6 separate regions of the Homo sapiens genome follow, and regions 2, 3, 4, 5 and 6 are each linked to region 1. The links are contacts of gene promoters, found by promoter capture Hi-C in blood cells and fetal thymus (Javierre and others, 2016). All regions are on one chromosome and are shown on one strand. Each heading gives the region's core, a stretch centred on a gene start or on the middle of the fragment in contact. The rest is flanking DNA. Distances are from core to core; before and after follow the strand shown.

Evidence for each region. The method cuts DNA at HindIII sites, captures the fragments that hold promoters and counts their contacts. A CHiCAGO score of 5 or more calls a contact.
Region 2: a fragment that was not itself captured here is called in contact with the fragment with the promoter of C4BPA in region 1 in 12 of 17 cell types (naive B cells, neutrophils, monocytes and 9 more); the score reaches 9.7 in naive B cells.
Region 3: a contact is called between a fragment that was not itself captured here and the fragment with the promoter of C4BPA in region 1, in 7 of 17 cell types (monocytes, M2 macrophages, M1 macrophages and 4 more). The highest score is 8.4, in monocytes.
Region 4: a contact is called between a fragment that was not itself captured here and the fragment with the promoter of C4BPA in region 1, in 12 of 17 cell types (monocytes, naive B cells, M1 macrophages and 9 more). The highest score is 9.6, in monocytes.
Region 5: a fragment that was not itself captured here is called in contact with the fragment with the promoter of C4BPA in region 1 in 10 of 17 cell types (M2 macrophages, total B cells, erythroblasts and 7 more); the score reaches 8.6 in M2 macrophages.
Region 6: a fragment that was not itself captured here is called in contact with the fragment with the promoter of C4BPA in region 1 in 2 of 17 cell types (monocytes and M2 macrophages); the score reaches 6.2 in monocytes.

What each region holds. Positions count from the first base shown.
Region 1 is chr1:207,102,843-207,105,660 of GRCh38, reverse strand. C4BPA (complement component 4 binding protein alpha) reads right to left here and starts at 1,428. Exons shown (of 12, transcript NM_000715.4): 1 at 1,231-1,428. The HindIII fragment of the contact is 2,080 bases long and covers 1,204-2,818 here.
Region 2 is chr1:207,349,778-207,352,595 of GRCh38, reverse strand. All of the region lies in intron 9 of CD55 (CD55 molecule (Cromer blood group)), which reads right to left. Among named protein-coding and RNA genes, the nearest start is that of CD55, 30 kb to the right of the region's middle. The HindIII fragment of the contact is 2,902 bases long and covers 1-2,818 here.
Region 3 is chr1:207,323,531-207,326,348 of GRCh38, reverse strand. It overlaps CD55 (CD55 molecule (Cromer blood group)), which reads right to left. Exons shown (of 10, transcript NM_000574.5): 3 at 1,599-1,790; 4 at 628-727. Among named protein-coding and RNA genes, the nearest start is that of CD55, 3.3 kb to the right of the region's middle. The HindIII fragment of the contact is 4,911 bases long and covers 1-2,818 here.
Region 4 is chr1:207,304,553-207,307,370 of GRCh38, reverse strand. All of the region lies in intron 3 of LINC02942 (long intergenic non-protein coding RNA 2942), which reads right to left. The region is part of intron 1 of LOC107985251 (a long non-coding RNA gene); the gene reads left to right. Among named protein-coding and RNA genes, the nearest start is that of CD55, 16 kb to the left of the region's middle. The HindIII fragment of the contact is 1,740 bases long and covers 547-2,286 here.
Region 5 is chr1:207,284,388-207,287,205 of GRCh38, reverse strand. The region is part of intron 2 of LINC02942 (long intergenic non-protein coding RNA 2942); the gene reads right to left. All of the region lies in intron 1 of LOC107985251 (a long non-coding RNA gene), which reads left to right. Among named protein-coding and RNA genes, the nearest start is that of CD55, 36 kb to the left of the region's middle. The HindIII fragment of the contact is 1,323 bases long and covers 711-2,033 here.
Region 6 is chr1:207,265,853-207,268,670 of GRCh38, reverse strand. All of the region lies in intron 2 of LINC02942 (long intergenic non-protein coding RNA 2942), which reads right to left. The region is part of intron 1 of LOC107985251 (a long non-coding RNA gene); the gene reads left to right. Among named protein-coding and RNA genes, the nearest start is that of LINC02942, 27 kb to the right of the region's middle. The HindIII fragment of the contact is 2,596 bases long and covers 82-2,677 here.

The sequences.
Region 1 (2,818 bases), core at 179-2,678:
TGGGCTCTCAATTATATCACTTACAAACTCCAGAAAGAACTGGCTCCCACACTTTCCCCACCCTTCCTAGAATCTCTTTTTTTTTTCTTTTTTTTTTTTTTTTGAGGTGGAGTTTCACTCTTGTTGCCCAGACTAGAGTGCAATGGCACGATCTCAGCTCACCCCAACCTCTGCCTCCCTGGTTCAAATGATCCTCCTGCCTCAGCCTCCCAAGTAGCTGGGATTACAGACATGTGCCACCATGCCTGGCTAATTTTGTAATTTTAGTAGAGACAGGGGTTCTCCATGTTGGTCAGGCTGGTCTCGAACTCCCGACCTCAGGTGATCCGCCAGCCTCGGCCTCCCAAAGTGCTGGGATTACAGGAGTGAGCCACCGTACCTGGCCAAATCTCTTTATTTTTCTATCAGCCCCTTTATTCTGTGCTCATACTACATTCAAACATATCTCTAAGCTTAATGCCAACCTTCTTTGATGCTTCTGCCTCTTCTGTAGTCTACTTTTTATTCTTTTGGTGTTACCATATTTAGAGATAGAATAGGAATCAGCAAAGAGACAAGTGGTTGAAGAATTAAAATGAGGACCAGAATGGTACTGTATCCTGGCCAACCAAGGAAGAAGAGAATTTCAAGAAGGAAGGGTTATCAGCATCGTCAAATTCAGAAAGTAAAGAAGATGAGGACGACTAAGACTGCTAGCTTCAGAAACCAACTGGAGGCTGGCCAGTGTCCTCCTTATTACCAAATCTAAACATCTTTGCTGTCAGTGGTGGAGGAGATTTGGAGTGGTTAATCAAATCTCAAAATAGAAATGGCCCCAGTTTTCAGAATGTAGACTAAGAAAAGCAAGCTTCCTGTGAACCCTTTGAAAAGTCTGATTGACCCCTTGCCTCAACTCTGATGTGGGAAGGTGGTGAAAGATCAACAAACCAACACATCTGTCTTTTAGATACAGTAACAAGAGCAACACCTTACACCTCTTCTTCTTTAGCTTATTTTATTAGAATGCAATATTATTCCTCCATTTATAATTTTTAAAACTTGAGGTTCAGATAGGGTTTAAAGTACGTCTCAAGTCTTACATCCCCCTAATACAGTGCTCCTGAAAAGATTTCTGCTGAAAACACCTCCAAGCTTTTGTCTCTGTTTTATCCTTCTAATCCTGCACTCCTTAAAGGGCCAAACCACCAGCCTTTCCTCCAAGCTTCCCCAAGGGTTTAGTAGTCCACCGACCTTTGGTAGTTGAGGAAGAGCAGAAGACTCTATGATGATATCTGGGATAGTTTCTCAAAGAAGAAAACTGCCTTGATCTATGTAGTCCTGGTTCCTCCCCAGATCAGAGTTTATCATAATACCCTGAAGTTGACTGGTAATTGCTCCACCAAAGAGTCCCTGAATTTCAGCCATGTGGTTGGCTGGTCAAGGACGGTTGATGGAAATAGATGGGCAGAAACTTTTGACGGGCCCAATGAATGATTAACAGCAGAAATAAAGCAGCACTGTTTACCTAAGCTCCTTCCTCTTTGCTAGTCCTCATTCTTCGTAACATGTCGCAATCGTTTATTTTCTCCTCTGCCAACCATTTCCCCTAAGTGGAAAGGTAATTTGAATTTGAAGCCAGAATTCTTTTTTCTTTTCATAAACACATAAGGGTTATGGCAAGACACAGTCCAGCTAGCCTGGAAACCTTGGATACTGCGAGGTTCAGAGAGCCTCCGCAAAAATGATCCACTTTCCATGACACTAGGTCCAGTATGCTTTCCTGGAGTTTGAAAACTGATATTCTTGCCCAGAGCTCGTCTCTATCCCACCCCAAGGAATTACAAAAGGTGGGGAATTTATCAAACATGCATTGGGTTTCCACTATGTGCTGAGTTATCTAGAACGTATTTGGAGTTCAGCAAATGTTAACTGCTACTACATGTCAGGCACCAGAGGGCCTCCAAAAATTGATCTATCCAGTGCGCTCAGAAGAACGCAATGAAGGACCGGCCATGTTTCCTCTCGCATAGATCTAAAAAGACCACAAGCACTTACATAGTCCAATTAAGCTACTAATCCTCAAGGTTAAGATTTGTGTGCTCAGAAGATTGCTATTAAAAGGCAATTCTTTCTGAGAACTTCACTTTTTCTGTAATAAATACTGAAAGTCCCAGAAGAGTTTCAGAAAAGGAACTAAACTACAACAGGTTGAGTTAATCAAGGAAGTTTCTACAGAAGATGTGAGATTTGGATAAAAGGTAGAAATTATTAGATAAAAGTGGTAAGGATATTAGATGTAAAGAAACCATGCGCTAGGTCACCAAGGTGAGACACTGATTTGACCAGAATGAAGATAGAGGAGGATTCCAGATTGCACAGTCTTGAGACTAAATTGGAAGAAATATCACCTTTAAAGCTGCTATTTCTTTAAAGTACCGTTTTCCAATGTATTGAAGTCCTTTCGTTTACTTTCCACAGTGACTCTTGCAGATTTTTCTCTCCAGGTCACCAAATTGTCACATTCCCTCTCAGCAGATGCTCTTACCTCCTACTTTACTAAAAATCATTCTACCTTAGCTTCATCAATGTCAAATTTTCCCTCCTATTCACTCCTCATTCCGAGGAGAATTGTTTCTTCTTTTCCTGCCTCATTTTCAATGCATCTCTCATCCTGAAATGTCCCTTCAATTTTGCCAATACCTCAAATTCCACCTTTCTTCTTTAGTGTGATGCTGAACTTCTCAAAGGTGTGACTTGTTCTACCTGCCTGTTCTTTCTCATTCATCACTCCACCTGTTGCTTTCCCATCTGGCTTCTACCACTCTTCTACTGACATGTC
Region 2 (2,818 bases), core at 139-2,638, 250 kb before region 1:
GATTAAGTTAATCACTTAATCACTTGGGTTGAATAATTACTAAGTGAAAAAAACAGGATTCAAACCAACATCCGACTGGTTTGACTCCAGAGGTTAAGCTCTTTCTTCTATATGATTTTGTCTTTAAAAACAATAAAAACAAAACCAACAGAAAGCAAGCATTCTCAATGGGGGTGATACCTGATGAAAGTTAAAAAAAAATTTTCCTTTTTTAAGTACAGAGTGCAGATATATATGTGATACATAAACTGATTTACAGTATATGTGTGGTGGAGGATGATCAAAAAAAAATGTCTAAAAAGGTCTTTGGTGAGAAGAGAGCAAGAATTAACGCACCCCCCACCCCCCACAAAAAAAAATTGGGAAACACTTATACAAAGCCAACGGAAGAAAAGATTTAAAATTCACAACACATGCTTCATTTACAAGGCAAATTAGAAAGTTCTGTAACATTAGTCAGTCTTTCTTCCTTAGCAGAATAGGAAAAAAAAATCAAATACTTCCAAAATTCAAAGATCATCTGTATCATTTTACTTACATTGCAGTGTAATTGATGAAACAATTTTCTTGCAGTAGAGTTAATTTATCTTTAAAGAAGAGTAACCTCATTCACATAATAAATTTAATGAATATAATTTTCAGGTTTATGTCCTACAAATATGAAATCACACACAAAAAATGTTGCCATATGTCCAGTTTAAGAAGGAAGGACTTCCTCTTTATTTTTTAACACAAGCTGGAATGCCGACTAAGGAAAGTTTTCTAGAAAATCAAAGGGTATAATACTTAAAGAATTTCAGGAAAAAAAGGCATTTCAAACCTTCATTGAGTGCCATTGAGCAGGTGAGAAAAAACTCATTTATTAAACTCATCACTTTTGTGATCATTAAATCATCAGACTTTCATTTGAAACACATTTATTTCTATTTAAAACAAAGTGAATTCCAACAGTTGGAATCTTTCAAGATAAATCTTTTAGCTTAGAAGTTCATTCAAAATATAAAATAACCACAATAAATAATAATGATAGTAATGATAATGTTTTTATTACTCTTTTCAGATCCAACACTGGATCATCCAGATTCATAAGACAAGTTCTTAAAGACCTATGAAGAGATGGAAATAACCACACAATATAGTGGGAGACTTCAACACCCCATTGACAATGTTAGACACATAATCAAGGCAGAAAACTAACAAAGATATTCATGACCTAAACTTGACACTTGACCAAATGGACTTAACAGACATCTACATAACATTACACCCAAGAACAACAGGATATACATTCTTCTCATCTGCACATAGCACATACTCTAAGATTGACCACATGCTCAACCATAAAGCAATTTTAAACAAATTCAAAAAACCAAAATCATACTAACCATACTCTTAGGCCACAGCATAAAATATAAATCAATACCAGGAAGATCTCTTAAAACTATACAATAACATGGAAATTAAACAACCTAATCCTGAATGACTTTTGGCATTCTGAAAATTAAGGCAGAAATCAAGAAATTCTTTGAAACTAGTGAAAACAAAGATACAACATACCAGAGTGTCTGGGACACAGCCAGAACAATGTCAAGAGGAAAGTTTGTAGCATTAAACACCTACATCAAAATGTTAGAAAAATCTCAAATTAACAAAGTAACATCACCTCTAGAGGATGTAGAAAAAACAAGAGCAAACCAACCCAAAAGCTAGCAGAAGAAAAAAAATAACCAAAATCAGAGCTGAACTGAATAAAATTGAGATGCAAAAATCCATACAAAAGATCAACAAAACCAAAGCTGGTTTTTTGAAAGAATAAATAAGATTGATAGACAACTAGCTAGATTAATAAAGAGAGAGAACATCCAAATAAACACAATCTCAGATGACAAAGGGGACATTACCACCAACCCCACAGAAATACAAAACACCCTCAGAGACTATTTTGAACACCTCTATGTACATAAACTAGAAAACGTAGAAGAAATGGTAAATTCTTGGAAAAATACAACCTCCTAAGATTGAACCAGGAAGAAATTAAATACCTGAACAGACCAATAACAAGTTCTTAAATTGAATCAGTAATTTAAAAAACCTACCAACCAGAAAGAGCCCTGTACCAGATGGATTCACAGACAAATTCCACCAAACATACAAACAAGAGCCGGTACCAATCATACTGAAACTATGCCAAAAATCAAGGAGGAGGGACTCCTCATTCTATAAGGCCAGCATCACACTGATACCAAAATCTGGCAAAGAGACAGGACAAAAAAAGAAAACTTCAGGCCAACATCCCTGATGAAAGTAAATGCAAAAATCCTCAACAAAATACTAGCAGATCAAATCCAGCAGCACATCAAATACCTAACTTACCACGATCAAGTAGGCTTTATTCCTGGGATGCAAGGTTGGCTCAACATATCCAAATCAATAAATGTGATTCATCACATAAACAGAACTACAAACAAAAAAACCACATGATCATCTCAATTGTTGTAGAAAAGGCTTTTGACAACATTCAACATCCCTTCATGTTAAAAGTCATCAACAAACTAGGCATCAAAGGAACATACCACAAAATAATAAGAGCCGCCAGGAAAAACCCACAGCCAACATCATACTGAATGAGCAAAAGCTGGAAGCATTCACCTTGAAAACCAGTACAAGACAAGGATGTCCATTATTATCATTCCTATTCAACATGGTACTGGAAATCCTAGCCACAGCAATCAGGCAAGGAAATAAAAGGCATCCATATAGGAAGAGAGGAAGTAAACTATCTCTCTTCACAGATGATATGAGTTTAAACCTAGAATAC
Region 3 (2,818 bases), core at 162-2,661, 220 kb before region 1:
TGTTTCGTATAGGAGACAAGTGATACTGATATTTTTACTTTATAAAGAATAGGGACACACACAGAGTAAAATAGAATTATTTAATTTACAGATATGAAATGAGAAAATAAATGTAAAGTTTTCAACAGTGTCTGAGACATTGATGGTACTCAATGAATGAGTTCCTTCTCCCTATACAGAGAACTTATCAAAGAACTTAGAATACTTTCACACTAGGAATGTCTTTAACTCATGCTGTTTTGTAACAGCTTGTTTGCATATAGAAAAACTCATGCAAATTCATTATTTAGGTCAACTAAAGATTGGTTTAGTATTTAACATTTGAAGATTTCTGCAAGTATCATCATCTCAAATTTTTTTATTAATCACATTTAAAATTTTATATTGAATCACATATTTACTGAAATCAGAATTTAGAGAATTCTGGTGGTTTAAGAAATCTTCCTTTCTTGCCCCCATTTTACTAAATTTAACTGTGATGAGCTCATGATGAAGGGTCTTTGAGGAGAGGGATTGTTTTAATTGCTACTAGCTGTGAATACCAGTCATGAAACTAACAATCTCACCTTAAGTCCTAATTTGTTTTCTCATTTCCTAAATACAGGGTTTTAGTATGCCCAAACTTACCCTGTGTTACATGAGAAGGAGATGGTTGCACCAAATAATATGCCACCTGGTACATCAATCTGACCATTTCGTATTTCTCCCGGATTAGGGCATGATTTCTCTAGAATAGAATACAAATTGATTTTTTAAAATTAAATTATCAGGCATACACACAAAGAAGGTAACTATGTGAGGTGGTAGATATGTTAATTAGCTTGACTGTGTTAATCATTTCACAATGTGCACATATATCAAAACATCATGTTGTACACCTAAGATAATATTTGTCGATTATACCTCAATAAAGCTCAGGTAAAAATTTTGAAAAAATTATCAAGCACATATATGTAAATTCATCATCTGAACCATTGATATTTCTTATCCTTAGACTTTTTTTTTTTTTTTTTTGAGATGGAGTTTTGCTCTGTTGCCCAGGCTGGAGCGCGGTGACATAATCTCAGCTCACTGCAACCTCTGCCTCCCAGGTTCAAGGGATTCTCCTGCCTCAGCCTTCCAAGAAGCTGGGATTACAGGCATGCGCCACCACACCCAGCTAGTTTTTGTATTTTTAGTAGAGTCAGGGTTTCATCATGTTGGCCAGGCTACTCTCAATCTCCTGACCTCAAGTGGTCCACCTGCCTCTGTCTCCCAAAGTGCTGGGATTACAGGTATGAGCCACCATGCCTGACCCTTAGACTTCTTTAATTCTAATTTCTCTTTATAATAAGTTTTGAAAAAGCAACGAATTTAGAATATATACTTGTTTTATTTTAGGTAACCTCAAACTAATTAAATGTGAAATTTTTGAATGAATAAGTATTCCTACCACATAAATATTTAGTCTAATTCAAAATAAATTGACACTCATGGTCCTATCAAGAAACATCCTATATAATAATATATACACATAGAGTTCTAGCATGAATGAAGGAAGGGATACTATTTCCCCCAAACACCAGATGGTTGAAAATACTTTAAAAAATTTTACTCACTTTTACAAAATTCGACTGCTGTGGACCATTTTAAATTCTGAAGGCAAGTTAGTTTTGGTGATAGAGAAGGTTCTCTTCTGTAACCTGGACGGCACTCATATTCCACAACAGTACCGACTGGAAAATAATTCTGAGTGATATAAGGCTGTTTGAGGGATGCAGAATTTAGCCTTGTTGGCACCTCGCAGCTACCTAAAAGTATTAACAAAAGCAGCAACAAAAAATGTAGTATCAATTTTTGTTTTATAATCTATATTTAATTATCTGGACCCTAATAACCCCCTTTCTTTACTGCTTTGCGCATATTTAGTACTTAACTATATTAATATCACCATGGCACTTGCAATGTAGCAAATGTATTCACATGTATACTTTGTTTCCTAGTTACTAGAGGCTTAGGAAGTAGAGTTGGTACACACATATCACTATCCCCACTTAAAAAAAAAAAAAAATTTAAGTTGCCTGGCCCAGTTCTGGCATTCAATAAATGTTGGTTTCCTTACCCTGCCCTAAAGAACTACACAGCACCATACAGTACAGGAATAGGGTATTTCCAGACCCCTGGACTAATGTCCTGCACAACAATAATAGCAGCTAATATTTATTTACGTACAAACTCATTTAATTCCCATGAGCCCTGGGGGCAAGGATGAGTCAATTGTATACATAAAGTATTTACACCTGTAAACAGATTGCCCACAAATTGTATACATAAAGTATTTACATCTGTAAACAGATTGCCCACAAATGTGAATCTAGAGAGGCATGGTCAAGTGGAAGGGTCATCATTGGATTTGTAGTCAGAAGACCCAAGTTTACACCTTGGTTTTGGCGTAAAAGCTGCTGCTCTTGAGGAAGTTATTAAACTACTGGGGTCTGTCTCCTCCGCCATAAAAAGAGTGTAAGAGCCCCAACTTACCTCATAAGGTTGTTTGGAGGATTGGATAAAGTAATAACATGGGGAAGAGTTAAAACATGATACATGTGCAAAGACTATGTACTTCATCCTACTGCCTCTATTGTGGATAAAAATAAAAAGTTAAAGCCTATTTCACGCATGGCTTCTAAAGGTATTTGTGCCAATTTCTGTATTTACAGTAGCTTCTATTGATTTAAGTTGTTCAAAGTCAGGTTATCGGGTCTCTTTATCTTTATCTCTACTCATATATCTCAAAGCTAATACAGGGCTATGTAAGTAACAGATTTTTTTCCTCCAAGAT
Region 4 (2,818 bases), core at 167-2,666, 200 kb before region 1:
TGTTGGAGGCCTCCTCAAGCATCTTATGATCCATAATGTTTCCTTCAATATTTACAAATGAGACTCCAACAAGCTAGTTGTAAACTGTGTGTGTTTCCTGGTTGGCTTCAGTGTAGGGTTATTGGGTTGGGAACTTGACAGTGTGGGAAACAACCCCATATGTTAGCATCTAAAAGTATTTTCTCTTAGTCTCATTCATTTCCCTAAAAAGAAATCCTCTGAAGTCTCACCTGGAATGGAACAGAGAGGTATAAGCCTGGCTACCAACATTCTGGGATCTTAGTCTCACCAGGGAGTTACAGGTCTCACCATTCAATGTTTGCCTTTCCTACCCTTCTTCTTTCACTGTCAGTTTTCCTAGAGTTGAGAACTACTCTGATTTTGATTTTTCCATTTAATGCCCCTTGCCTCTTCTCTGGATAGGAGAAATGGCAAAAACCTTCTTTGTCAAACAGCACTTCAATTAGAAGCAAAACCATTAGTGCTTTGTGCGCACATTGAGCAACTGGGATCCTTCAGGATTGGCTGCTCTCGAGAAAGAAAGCTTCCCACGGGTCACCACACCCCACCCCACTACTTTATCCACAGGGAAGCAGCTGTATCAAATGGCCAATGGTCCTAGTTCCTGGCAGAAAGTAAAAGCATGATAATAGTCTCCTAAATGCTCTGCATATGAGAAGCGTCCTTCAGGTCTGTCGACTTTATATACACTTTCAACTGATCCTCCTATTTTCAGTTTAATTCCTAATCTCCAAAGGTTCTTTGTGCCTCCAATTTCTGAGCCTTTCTGGGGTTCTGCAGCATAAACAGACTGGCTACAGGCAGGAAGGTTTTAGCTTTCTACTTTCTGCTAAATCGGTAACAATTCAAACACCTTTCTGCATCTCCTCTGCCATTTATTCTTTTGTGTTTTTATGCCTTTAAAAAATTATTTTTAATTTTAGTTAAAATGACACTGTAATTTTAGTGGCATTTTGAGAAAGAGTGAAAATAAATACGAATAGTCACTTATTTTTTCAACAGAAGTCACTATATATATATATACATATACTATGTATATGTGTTACTGCTTAACCATTTCATGAAATGCTCTCTATTATCATCTTAAGAACAGAGACTCCTTTATCAGCTATATGAATTTAGCATCTGGCTAGGAACTTTGGAAAAACTGGATATGTCAAAATAGAGAACAGAAGTATATGTTGAATAATCTTCTTTGCCCCTGGAATAGAAATACCTAGCAAATAAGGCAAACTGTGAATCAGCTTTTCCCTCTTAAATGGCTTAAAGAGGGGGCTCTTCTTAACCAAAATGCTACCTAAAATGCAACAAAGTACATCAACATATGTCTTTTGCAAAGCCAATTAACTTGTAATTTATATTTTTAAAAATATTCAGATATGACTCATGTTTCTTAATAAAATTCCTTGACAAAAAGTGAATTCAAGGCCCAGGGTTTGCTGGAGATAACAATCCACCTGGTAAGACATGGATTTAGACTAATTTTTAATCACTAATTTTATGTTTTCCATGTTTAATATGTTTAATCACTAATGTTTATCATGCTTCTACTTTGTGCCAGGAACTAGGACCATTGGCCATTTGATACCGCTGCTTCCCCATGGATAAAGTAGGGGGTGTGGTGGCCCATAGGGAGTTTTCTTTCTCGAGAGCAGCCAATCCTGAAGGATCACAGTTGCCCAATGTGCGCACAAAGCACTAATGGTTTTGCATCGGATTGAAGGGCTGTTTGACAAAGGTTTTCGCTATTTCAAATACGTAACTGGAGTCTAAGTTTCCAAAAGGTGCTCCCAAGATAAAAAATTTCTGTGATGATATCAGCTTGCACTTAATGGACAAACCAGATTCTTTGAGAAATGTCAGTAGTTTTAATTTAGCAGCTGAAATCTGAATATGTTTCAGTGTTTCTTAGTGAAGCCTTTTCTGCTGCGAAGGATCCACAAAGTCCAGTGTAATTTCAGGATAAGCAGATATGATGTGTGGAGGGTGCAAACTGGCAGTCTGCATGCTGCTTCCAGAACGTGATGTGCATTGCTTGCCTAGGCTCCAGCCTTTCCACCTCAGCTGCTTTGCCCTTTACCTAAGATGTGATTTATTTATATACCTGCCTAACTCATTTTACTTCAGGATGGAGATTAACTATTATCAGCTTCAGGAAGTCTTCCGTAACCTTCCCACACACCTTGAACAATATTCTATTATAACATTTAACAAATATCTGTAATTGTTTTTGCCACTAGACCATGGCCTCTCAAGGACAAAGCTTAGGAATGAGTCATATTACCGCTCAACTAATACAGTGCATGACATATAAGATAGAGTCAATAAACATATGAATGAATGGACAATGAGTGACGCTGCCAAGAACAGAGATTTAGTTTAGTTCCCTTTCCTTTGATTAGCAATCTTGGTCTAGGTGTTATGTACGTAACAGCCATCATCTTATGGGCTTATAATAAAATAAATAAAACAATAAAATAACACGTCACTTAGCTATAAATGAATGAGTAATGTCTCTTAATCTTTCCTATTAATTGTGAGTCATAGGATCTGGGCATGGTACATAATATGTCCCATCATAATATTAAATATATTGCAGGGCGGTACAAACAAACCATTCTATCAGGCATAGAGAAGAATGATGTAGAGCCTAAGACTAACATAAACTCAAAGGGCAGAAAATAAGACAAAATATGCAAGCAAGGTAACAAACTGCATGCCATTTACCAGATTATAGTTCATTTTCCATTTAAAATTTAAATTATATTTAAATTCCATTTAAAGTAAAAGAAATGGT
Region 5 (2,818 bases), core at 123-2,622, 180 kb before region 1:
AGTCTTTTTAAATGTGTGAACCAGATGAAAATCTGCAGGAAAAACATCTTTTCCATTAAAAAAAGTCTGTGACTTTTATGGTGAATTCATGGGGAGGGGTTGGTTTTCATTTGCAATCCTTTAAAACAAATACGCTAAAATCCAAAAGAGGATAAGTAACAAGAAATGAGCACTCTGTAGGAGGGAATCTGAAGAGAGAGACACACACCCATGTTATGTCTATGGAAATACTTTACAGAGCTGTGTTTTAGACTTTGCATTCTTACTGCCAGAAATGGAAAGCTGAGAATGTGATGACTGTTGATTCTGAGCCACAAAGAAATTACTGACCAAGTGCCACATCTTTTCATTTCACTGATGCAGTTAATATTTTCTCATAACTGGAAACAACTTACTGACTGCCTGAGAAATCCCTTACTGCAAATACTAAAAGTGGGAAGCTCTGGAGAGGGCATATTCTGGCCAAAACAGCCATGCCCCTTAAACTAGGCATCTCATAGTGGCTTGGTCAGTGCTAAACCCGATGAGTTCCTGACAAACTCCTCTCTCTGGGTCTTGCCAACAATATTGCAGGAAAGAAATAGGATTTGCTAGTGAAGGGGGAAAGAGGGACACAAGAGCTACCTGCTGCTTCAGGAAAAGTGCTTATAAAGTGTACCATGCAGGTTGTGTATTACACACATCTGAACAACTCAAACCTCTAGAAAGCTTCCTTACTGGAACTAGAGAGAAAGCCACACAGGAAGATGAAAGGCAGGTGCGCAGCTAAGAACTAAGATACCACTGAGACCGTTACCTTCCACACAGCACTCATTGTTCTATGAGTATGAGAGAATTCATGGGCATTCCCTCTGCAGGACAAGTCCTTGTTCTGGTTTTTTTTTTTTTTTTCATATATATTTAATCCTCTACATCCTTAGAATTTCCATTCCCTGTGCCCACCGTATTTTGAAATCTTGTGGAGTTGATACGTTCCTTTTTCTGCAAATTTCTCTTCAACATCCAGAGAGCATGCCTTTTGGCAGGCTCAACTCTGCCCAGTTTCACATGGAAACAGGCTCCTGTGAAGAATGAAAAGAAGTATCTGATCTTAATTCCCTACTATGGAAAGAGACTGCCGGGTATCCTAAAATGCCTTTGGCTGGGCTCTAGGCATAACTGGATGAAACTGAAATGGAAAAGCATCAGCTGTATATAATGATACTCCCAGAGTCACAAAGGCAGACTTTTGCTTGGTTCTGGATACCCTACAGAAGACAACAACCTTTTCTCCTGAGGTTTGAGTATCAACAGGGTTCAGCAAATGTAAAATAATCATGTCAGTGACGGCTAATCTTTTTTCAGAAATCTCATTGACGCGCAGGCCTGCCATGTTGATTTTTTTCTGTCCTTAGTTAGACTAATAGGGGTCTTGAAAAATTATTCAAAATTCTTAGGCAAACTCAAGGGAAAGAAGAAATTATTAAGTGTAAAGTTTAAGGGTAAAGTCTTACCTCCTCTACAAATCCTTCCAGCCATGGAAGGAAATTCATGGTCTTTCTTGACCCCAAATTCCTATACATTGCACTGACATTCAACCAAAATACTCTCTGCTTCCACTTAGTTATTCTGATATTGATATCTCATCTCCTCAAGTAGATTTGACTTGTGAAAGGATGGAGGCCTTGTTTTAGCCTTCCCTTTATGTTCTAGTGACATCTGCTTCAATAAGCCCATATTACACTCTCATTAAATACTTGCTTAATTAATGAACAATTCTTCCTCTCTTCTCTTCTGGTAGTCCCATCAGACGAAATTGATTCCCTCAACATTTTGGACTCTAGAGCCCAACTAGCAAACTGTTTTTGTGATTCTGGCTATTAATCTTCACAAGACTGACTTCAGTAAAAATCAAACAGGCATTGTTTGGGGAAGAGCAGGCCATGGAAGAAAGAAGGCAAAACTTATTTTCCAACTGCAGTGACATTGAAAGCTAAGTAAAACACATAATGTGCTAGTTATATAAATTTTGCTAAAAGTTGGGGTTAAAAGCTTGTTAAGTAATATTCCTGTGGCACTCTGATTTCAACCTTAAAGGCCATTCCCATTTGCAAAATGAAAAGAAATTTGGTCACAAAAACCAATTATGGCCAATTCTAGGCATATTGGCTGTAGGTAATGTTTGTCCTAAATGTACTCACATAGTCACTCTCCTATTCCCACTAACAATTCCATTGCTTTCTCCAACATAAATTGTCCAGTTCTTTATTGTTATTCTTGACTCTTAAAAAAATCTGCTACAAGCAAATGTGGCTCGATAACTTTTCCCTTATTAGGAAAAATTCCTTAAAAATATGCAGAAAACGAGGAATGACGAACACAAATACATTGTTAATGACAAGATTCAAGCATTAGCCCAGTCCAGATGGAACTAACACATCTGTTTTTCAAGCAAATACTGACTATCATGAGGCCAGCTTCAAATGTAATAAATGTTTCTTGCAGAAATAAGAGGGTAATTATTGCTGCTCCAATCCCTTAGGGTTGCTTTATTTTAAAAGAGAGGTTATCTCACCCAGCTGTCTGGTGAGCTAATATCCTGCAATGAAAACAGCTAAAGGTCAGCATTGAATCTTAGTCCTGAGACTGTGATGATGCTTTCACTTTAAAGGTCTGGGTTTACCTGGAAAGCGAAAGCAAATTCCTCAGTAAAAGGAAACGTGGCACGACTATGCTTCTATTTTATAAGAGAATCTTCAAATGGAACCCAACAGCTAGTCTCCCAGATCCACATTCTACTTAAGGCTCTCACATTTCAATTGTTGCTGTCACTCATACT
Region 6 (2,818 bases), core at 130-2,629, 160 kb before region 1:
TTCATCTTTTTTTTCTTGCAGTTCATCTACTTTCCAAGACTTATGCAATTTTCAGGAGTCCTCTGTTTATTCCAAAAAGCTTATGCATTTTTTTATGATTCCTCTGTTTATTCCACAGGGCTGGGTCATGATTTCTTGCTGTACTCAAGCTATGACCCTGCCCTTCTCACTGCATCCACCCTTGGATTATTACCCTCCTACTTGGCGAAAGTGGAGTGCATTCAGTGCAACCCCACCCATATTTCTTCCTCCTATTATTTCTTTGTCTGTGACTATGTGACAATACCTCTCTTATTTCCTTTCTCTTTGTCTTCCTTTGGGTGTTTCATCCCTCCATTATAACCTATCATCACTAATTGACTTTAAAACACTCTATAACATGAAATCGATTTTGCTGGTAGTTGGTGCCCCCTCATATTACATCCTGTTTTTCTTCTTCCTTTCAATATAAAATTCTCTAAGTGCTACTTTTATTTTTCATTATAGGTCTGGAACTGAACTGTCAATTTACTCCCAAACTGGATGGCCATTCTCTCGATAATGATGTTATTTTCAGGCAGGCTTGAAATCCTAGTGTTTTTTTTCTTTTCAGTCCTCATTTCCTATCCTACAACCCGCAATTTACAATTTAGAATCATTAATCCCCGTAAATTGGTTACTGAATTGGTTATTAATTCATGTTTATTTATGTCTAATTCTATTTATTAGTTTCATCAATTCCTTCATGAACTGTTCATCATGATTTGGGGGGCAATAATTTTGATTTTTCAAAATATTACACTAAAATATTATTTATGTTGGTTACCAAGTTGTTGATGTCCCCCTTACATTTTATGCTCAAGGTGAGTACCTCACTTGCCTCACCCTGGTTTCAGCCTGTGGCTCGGGGTGCTGCATGAACAGAAGCCATTGAGTGGACTATTTTGGACTCACCAGAGTTGCATTTTGCATATGCATATGCATCTGCAGGTGAGCCCATGAGTTTTCTGACTTGGTTCCTTCTCTTCAGGGTCTTAGGAACTGAAGGAACATGTATTGTATCCCATTCTTTCACCTTTTAGAAAATGCTCTGAAGATCTTCCAGAAAGATCTATCACATATTTACAAGAAGCTGAAGTTTTTGGCAGTGTTCATTGGTTTGGTGTGGTGTCAAGGATGAAAACAATACTTTATAAAATGGGTGTGTTGTGAGTGAGAGGATAAAGATGATATAGAAAAAACACCGTGCAGGTGAGTTGATACCTAATTTTTATTGCCTGCACATTGGGAAGCAGTGAAGGAGTTATTTCAGGATCAACTTGATACATTTTCAGTCAACACAGATGTGGGGAGCATTGAAGAGGACTTTTAAAGGGAATCTTGAGTTTTTTAGATGCCACATATAAGTAAGATCATGCAGTATTTGTCTTTCTTTGCCTGCCTTATTTCAGTTAGCATAATGTCTACCAGGTTCTCCGTGTTGTTACAAATGGCAGGACCTCCCTCTTTTTGAAGCCCGAATAATATACCATTGTGTATATATATCACATTTACTCTATCCATTCATCCATTAATGGGCACATAAGTTGATTCCATTTCTTGTCCATCATAAATAATGCTGCAGTGAATGTGGAAGCACTGATATTTCTACAAAGTGCTGATTTCCTTTTGTTTGGGTATATATACCCAGCATAGGGATTGCCTGGTCATATAGTAGTTCTAGTTTTAATTTTTTGAGGAAAATCTATGTTTTTTTTCATAACGGCTATACCAATTTACATTCACACCAATAGTGTCTAAGGGTTCTCTGTTCTCCATATTCTCTCCAACACTTATTCCTTGACTTTTTTATAATGGCCATCCTAACAGGGGTGAAGTGATAATCTCATTGTGGTTTTGATTTGCAGTTCCCTGAAGACTAGTGATACTGAGTACCTTTTCATATAACTGTTGGCCATTCATATGCCCTCTTTGGAAAAATGTCTACTTCATTCCTTTGCCCATTTTTAAATTGAATTATTGAGGGTTTTTTGCTATTGAGGTGTGTGAGTCCCTTATATGTTTGGATATTAACCCTTTGTTAGATATATGGTTTGCAAATATTTTCTCCCTGTCTGCAGGCTGCCTTTTCATTTTGTTATTTCTTTCGCTATGCAGAATCTTTTTAGTTTGATGTAATCCTACTTGTTTATTTTTGCTTTTGTCACTGTGCTTTTGGGGTGATGGCCAAAAGTCATTTCCAAGACCAGTATCAAAGAGCTCTTCCCATGTTTTCTTCTAGGAGTTTTAAATAAAAACAGAGAGTAGAACAGTGGTTACCAGGGGTAAGGAGGGGGAGGAAATAGAGGTATGTCAAAGGGTACAAATTTGCAGTTAAATTGGATGATAAGTCTAGAGCTCTAAAATACAGTATGGAGACTATGGTTAATAATATTGTATTGTATACTGAAAATTTGCTAACAGAATAGATTTTAGGTGCTCTTAGCACACATAGGTAACTATGGAAAGTGATGAATATTTACATTTGTTTGACTGTAGTAGTTATTTCACTGTGTATATGTACATCCAAGCACCATGTTGTACCCATTAAATATATAAATAAATAAGAATCTTGATATAAATTTTGAGCCGTGGAAAGAGAATTTATACCAGTGGCAAGGTGGCCCTGGAAGTAGAATGAACTATGCCTGGAAAAGCTTGAAGTTTAAAGTTAGAGGTGACCATTTAGTAAAAGGTCTCTAGAGGTACACCAAATATACATTTTGTCCTAATAGCAGATGGCCAAGTATTAAAGCATAGTATTTTCTCAAAGTAGAAGATGAGGTTTACAATAGTATCA